Linked DNA regions of Homo sapiens: region 1 is linked to region 2. Evidence: promoter capture Hi-C in 16 types of primary human blood cells and fetal thymus (Javierre and others, 2016). All regions are on one chromosome and are shown on one strand. Each heading gives the region's core, a stretch centred on a gene start or on the middle of the fragment in contact. The rest is flanking DNA. Distances are from core to core; before and after follow the strand shown. Region 1 has its middle 180 kb from the start of ROCK1. Region 2 holds the start of GREB1L-AS1 (GREB1L antisense RNA 1).

Region 1 (3,877 bases), core at 308-2,807, 520 kb before region 2:
ATGTCTTCATATAAAATCTGTACAGAAGCACTCTCAGGAGCTACTTTGTGATATCTGCATTCAGGTCACAGAGTTGAACATTCCCTTTCTTAGAGCACGTTTGAAACACACTTTTTGTAGTATCTGGAAGTGGACATTTGGAGCGCTTTCACGCCTTTGGTGAAAAAGGAAATGTCTTCCCATAAAAACTAGACAGAAGCATTCTAAGAAACTTCTTTGTGATATATGCACTCAACTAACCGAGTTGAACCTTTCTCTTTATAGATCAGTTTGAAATGCTCTTTTTGTGGAATCTGCAAGTGGATATTTGGATAGCTCTGAGGATTTCGTTGGAATCGGGATTACATATAAAATATAGACAGCAGCATTCTCAGAAGCTCCTTGTGATGTTTGCTTTTAAGTCACAGAGTTGAACATTCCCTTCCATAGAGCAGTTTTGAAACACTCTTTCTGTAGTATCTCTAAGTGGACATTTCGAGCGATGTCAGGCCTATGTTGAAAAAGGAAATAACTTCCCATAAAAAGTAGACAGAAGCATTCTCAGAAACTTATTTGTGATGGGTGTCCTCAACTAACAGAGTTGAACGTTTCTTTTGATACAACAGTTTAGAAACACTCTTTTTGTAGTATCTGCAAGCGGATATTTCGATAACTTTGAAGATTTCGTTGGAAACGGGAATATCTTCATATACAATCTAGACAGAGGCACTCTCAGAAACTGCTTTGTGATGTCTGCATTCAAGTCACAGAATTGAACATTCTCTTTCATCGAGCACGTTTGTAACACCGTTTCTGTAGTATCTGGATGTGGACATTTGAGCGCTTTGACGCGTACGGTGACATAGGAAATATCTTCCCTTAAAAACTAGACAGAAGCCTTCTCACAAACTGCTTTGTGATGTATGTCCTCCACTAACAGAGTTGAACCTTTCTATTTACAGGGCAGTTTTGAAAGACTCTTTTTGTAGAATCTGCAAGCGGATATTTGGATACCTTTAAGTAGATTTCATTGGAAACGGAAAAGTCATTCTCAGAAACTTCTTTGTGATATGTGTCCCCACCTAACAGAGTACAACCTGTCTTTGGATACAGCAGTTTGGAAACACTCTTTTTGCAGAATCTGCAAGTGGATATTTGGATAGCTCTGACGATTTCCTTGGAAACGGGAATATCTTCATATAAAATCTAGACAGAAGCACTCTCAGGAGGTACTTTGTGATATCTGCATTCAAGTCACAGAGTTGAACATTCCCTTTCATAGAGCTGGTTTGAAACACTCTTTTTGTTGTATCTGGAAATGGATCTTTGGAGCGCTTTGCCGACTTTGGAGAAAAAGGAAATATCTTCCCATAAAAACTAGACAGAAGCATTCTCAGAAACTTGTTTGTGATGTGTGTACTCAACTGACAGAGTTGAACGTTTCTTTTTACACAGCAGTTTTGAAACACTCTTTTTGTAAAATCTGCAAGTGGATAATTGGATGGCTTTAAGGATTTCCTTGGAAACGGGACTATATTCATGTAAAATCTACACAGAAGCATTCTCAGAAACTTCTTTGTGATGTGTGTCCTTAACTAACAGAGTTCAACCTTTCTTTTGATACAGCAGTTTCGAAACACTCCTTTTGTAGAATATGCAAGTGGATATTTGGATAGCTCTAACGATTTCATAGGAAATGGGAATACCTTCATATAAAATCTAGACAGAGGCACTCTCAGAAACTGCTTTGTGATATCTGCACTCAAGTCACAGAGTTGAACATTCCCTTTCTTAGAGCAGGTTTGAGACACTTTGTAGTATCTGGAAGTGGACATTTTTAGCGCTTTGACGCCTTTGGTGAAAAAGGAAATGTTTTCCCATAAAAACTAGACAGAAGCATTCTAAGAAACTTCTTTGGGATATATGTACTCAACTAACAGAGTTGAACCTTTCTATTTATAGGTCAGTTTTGAGAAGCTCTTGTTGTGGAATCTGCAAGTGGATATTAGGATAGCTCTGAGGATTTCCTTGGAAACGGGATTACATATAAAAAGTAGACAGCAGCATTCTCAGAACCTTCTTTGTGATGTTTGCTTTTAAGTCACAGAGTTGAATATTCCCTTACATAGAGCAGGTTTGAAACACTATTTCTGTAGTATCTGGACATGGACATTTCGAGCGATTTCAGGCCTATGTTGAAAACGGAAATATCTTCCCATAAATACTAGACAGAAGCATTCTCAGAAATTTCTTTGTGATGTGTGTCCTCAACTAACAGAGTTCATCCTTTCTTATGATACAGCAGTTTTGAAACACTCTTTTTGTAGAATATGTAAGTGGATAGTTGGATAGCTCTCATTATTTCATTGGAAACGGGAGTATCAACATAGAAAACCTAGACAGAAAAATTCTCAGAAACTGCTTTATGATGTCTGCATTCACGTCACAGAGTTGATCATTCCCTTTCATAGAGCAGGTTTGAAACACTATTTCTGTAGTATGTGGACATGGACATTTCGAGCGATTTCAGGCCTATGTTGAAAACGGAAATATCTTCCCATAAAAACTAGACAGAAGCATTCTCAGAAATTTCTTTGTGATGTGTGTCCTCAACTAACAGAGTTCATCCTTTCTTATGATACAGCAGTTTGGAAACACTCTTTTTGTAGAATATGTAAGTGGATAGTTGGATAGCTCTCACTATTTCGTTGGAAACGGGAGTATCAACATAGAAAACCTAGACAGAAACATTCTCAGAAACTGCTTTATGATGTCTGCATTCACGTCACAGAGTTGATCATTCCCTTTCATAGAGCAGGTTTGAAACCCTCTTTCCGTAGTATCTGGATGTGGACACTTGGAGCGCTTTGACGCTTACGGTGCAAAAGGAAATATCTTCCCATAAAAACTAGACAGAAGCATTCTCACAAACTGGATTGTGATGTTTGTCCTCAACTAACAGAGTTGAAACTTTCTATTTACAGAGCACTTTTGAAAGACTCTTTTTGGAGAATCTGCAAGTGGATATTTGGAGAGCTTTAAGGATTTCATTGGAAACGGGAATATCTTCATATAAAATCTAGACAGAGGCATTCTCAGAAACTTCTTTGTGATGTGTGTCCTCAACCAACGGAGTACATCCTGTCTTTTGATACAGCAGTTTGGAAACACTCTTTTTGTAGAATCTGCAAGTGGATATTTGGATAGCTCTAACGATTTCGTTGGAAACGGGAATATCTTCATAAAAAATCTAGACAGAAGCACTCTCAGAAACTACTTTGTGATATCGGCATTCAAGTCACAGAGTTGAACATTCCCTTTCATGGAGCAGGTTTGAAACACTCTTTTTGTAGTATCTGGAAGTGGACCTTTGGAGCCCTTTAATGATTTTGGTGAAAAAGGAAATATCTTCCCATAAAAACGAGACAGAAGCATTCTCAGAAACTTGTTTGTGATTTGTGTACTCAACTAACAGAGTTGAACCTTTCTTTTTACAGAGCCGTTTTGAAACACTCTTTTTGTAGAATCTGCAAGTGCATATTTGAATGGCTTTAAGGATTTCGTTGGAAATGGCAATATCTTCATGTAAAACCTACACAGAAGCATTCTCAGAAACTTCTTTGTGATGTGTGTCCTCAACTAACAGAGTTGAACCTTTCTTTTGACAGAGCAGTTTTGAAACACTCTTTTTGTAGGATCTGCAAGTGGATATTTGGATAGCTTAGAGGATTTCCTGGGAAATGGGAATATATTCATATGAAATCTAGACAGAAGCATTCTCAGAAACTTCTTTGTGATCTTTTCATTCAACTCGTAGAGTTGAACATTCCCTTTCATAGAGCCAGTTTGAAACACTCTTCTTGTAGTATCGGGAAGTGGACATTTGGAGCGCTCTGAC
Region 2 (2,597 bases), core at 98-2,597:
GAACTCTTTGGCGGAGGGCATTTCAGAGACCTTAAGGACTCTCAGTGAAATGAGACACTATCAAAGGCTGCCAGATTATGTGGTGGTAATTTGTGCATCGAAAATCAGAGGAAATGAATTTTGTGTGGTAGTGTTAGGTGAGTAATTTTTTTGTTTTTTGTTTGTTTAATCAATTCATTCGACCATTTTTCCATTTAAAAATGTGTGTTATGTGTTTCAGGCATCCACATAATCAACCTCTGATTAATTGCTGGAGCTTGGGCTCATCCTCCTAATTTTAACTTTCCCTTTCCTTCTCAGATCAGGTTTTGTGTAGCCCTCAGTTTGGCTGGTGCCCCTGTCAGCTGGTTGTGGGAGCATTATTTCAAAGCTCTCCCTAGTAACAGATACCCCTGTCTCATGTAACTGCTGTCCTTTAAAGATTTTGGAAATGTTACTACTCTAGCATGTGATAAAGCCAGTGCCACAGGTGGCCTAAGCCAGTTAATCGAATTTGCCAGAAAATTAGCTCATATATTCCCCTTCTCACTGAACAGTCTATTTAATATTGTAACATAGTCTCTAAAGAAAAGATTCAGAAAGTTGGTACACTACAAAATTGGGGGGTGGGAGGGGATTTTTGTTTGTTTGTTTTGCACTGTGCAGATTTTCTATCAGGCACCCTCTTGGGTAGCCATTTGGACTACATTTTGCTTCTCTCTTCTCTGTACTGAATGGCTCTCACCTCTTCCAGCAAAGAAGCTAAGAAAACCCCCTCACTTTGACAAAACCTGTCTGCCCATTTTTCTGTGCTACATGTATTTCCAGAAAGCTTCATCAGTGTGATACATTAATATTTTTTCATTTTTATTTGTAAAAAACATGTTTATATTTTTAAAGCAAATTCATTATAACCATGCAAGCACAATTTTTATAAGGTTTTTCATACTCTTCCCTAGTCTGTTTTTCCCCCATGTTCTCAGCCCCTGGGCATCTGCCCAATTGGCCAGCCCTGGGGCAGCCATGGTGTTGCTCACAGCCCCTGGCGGGGACAGGGACCTTCCTTAGTCATTAAACACAAACGTGCATATTTTCAGTTACATAAGGTACATCATTTTGTTCCCCTGATCATCTGTATTATAAACATTTCTGTTTCTGTCTAGAGTCAGAATTGATATTTCAAATGCTATATAATTGTCCATACCTTTTGATGTGTCATAATTTTCTTAACCCAAGTCCCTATAGTGACATCCTTTGATTGTTTCCAATTGTTGCCATTATAAGTAATGTTCCAGCAACATTTGTTCTGTTGATGAGTCTTCTCTTCTCTCCTCCATCCTGCAGGTCAGCACCAGTCCCGAGCTCTGGCAGAGAGCATGCTCACCACAAGTGAGTTTTTGAAAGAAATTAGTTATGAGCTTATCACAGGAAAGGTCAGTTTCCTGGCATCACATTTCAAAACCACATCATTAGGTGAGTGGTTGTAAGATTTGGCAACACTGGCAGCCCCTAGTTGTATGATTTTCTGAGTTTAAATCTTAGCCTGTCAAGATGAGTGTGGAGCTCAAGCTTGCCAGCTGATCTTTCATTTGAAATGGTTTATCCTAAGTATTTTGTCACTAACACCACAGGAAGCAGTAAGGGGGTCTAGAGGAAGGCCCATTGGTACTGGATTCAAAAGTCTCAGCTCAGCCACAACCTTGTTGAGTGACCTTGGGCGAGTTTCTCTCTCCCTGGAACTCGGTTTGTTCGTTCGTTCCTTCCTTCCTCCTTCCCTCCCTTCCTTCTTTCCTTCCTTCCTTTTTTTTTTTTTTTTTTTTTTTTTTTTTTACAGTGTTGCACTCTATCGCCCAGGCTGGAGTGCAGTAGCGTGATTATAGCTCACTGCTTGACACCACCCCTCTTCACGGGCTCAAGCGATCCTCCCACTTCAGCCTCCCAAGCAGCTTGGACTACAGACATGTGCCACCATGCCTGGCTAATTTTTTAATTTTTTGTAGAGACTGGGTCTCCCTTTGTTGCCCAGACTGGACTCCAGCTCCTGGCCTCAAGCAATCCTCCTGTGCCTTGGCCTTCCAAAGTGCTGGGATTACAGGCATGAACCACTGCGCCCAGCCTGGAACTCAGTTTTCTAATCCCATTCTGTCTGCTTTTGAGTATTAGGGAAGTCAAGAGAGATACAACATGTGAAAGCATGTAAATTATAAGCACTATATCAATGAGAGTAGTTCTTGATATAGAGACACCAGTATACTATAAAGATGGCCAAGTGTAAATGCTGATATGAATTGCTGGCTGACCAACAAATCTACTGAGAACAGCCTAACTGCCCAACTTGGGCAGTTAATAAAAATGAAACAAACATATCCTTCCTTGTAACCTTCTTATCTCTATTTTGTAATAGGCGATGACCTAGACAAGCTGCTGGAAAAAATGCAACAAAGAAGAGGAGACAGTGTGGTTACCCCTTTCGATGGAGACCTTAATGAATGTGTGTCACCCCAGGAGGCTGCTGCTATGATTCCCACACAAAACCTGGGTAATGTCATCTCAGACCAAGAGGAGGAAGTCAGTCCTTGGGACAGACATTGTAAAAACTAAGTCATTCTAAGGGTTTT

The links. The method cuts DNA at HindIII sites, captures the fragments that hold promoters and counts their contacts. A CHiCAGO score of 5 or more calls a contact.
Region 1: a contact is called between a fragment that was not itself captured here and the fragment with the promoter of GREB1L-AS1 in region 2, in 11 of 17 cell types (activated CD4 T cells, non-activated CD4 T cells, M2 macrophages and 8 more). The highest score is 9.4, in activated CD4 T cells.

What each region holds. Positions count from the first base shown.
Region 1 is chr18:20,933,005-20,936,881 of GRCh38, forward strand. No RefSeq gene overlaps it. Among named protein-coding and RNA genes, the nearest start is that of ROCK1, 180 kb to the right of the region's middle. RefSeq lists enhancers at 110-717, 718-1,323, 1,324-1,931, 1,932-2,537, 2,538-3,145 and 3 more. The HindIII fragment of the contact is 5,772 bases long and covers 1-3,877 here.
Region 2 is chr18:21,449,700-21,452,296 of GRCh38, forward strand. GREB1L-AS1 (GREB1L antisense RNA 1) reads right to left here and starts at 1,348. Exons shown (of 4, transcript NR_187982.1): 1 at 1,184-1,348. It overlaps GREB1L (GREB1 like retinoic acid receptor coactivator), which reads left to right. Exons shown (of 33, transcript NM_001142966.3): 12 at 1-137; 13 at 1,324-1,452; 14 at 2,384-2,518. It overlaps LOC124900410 (small nucleolar RNA SNORD23), which reads right to left and starts at 1,057; the gene lies at 954-1,057. The HindIII fragment of the contact is 737 bases long and covers 810-1,546 here.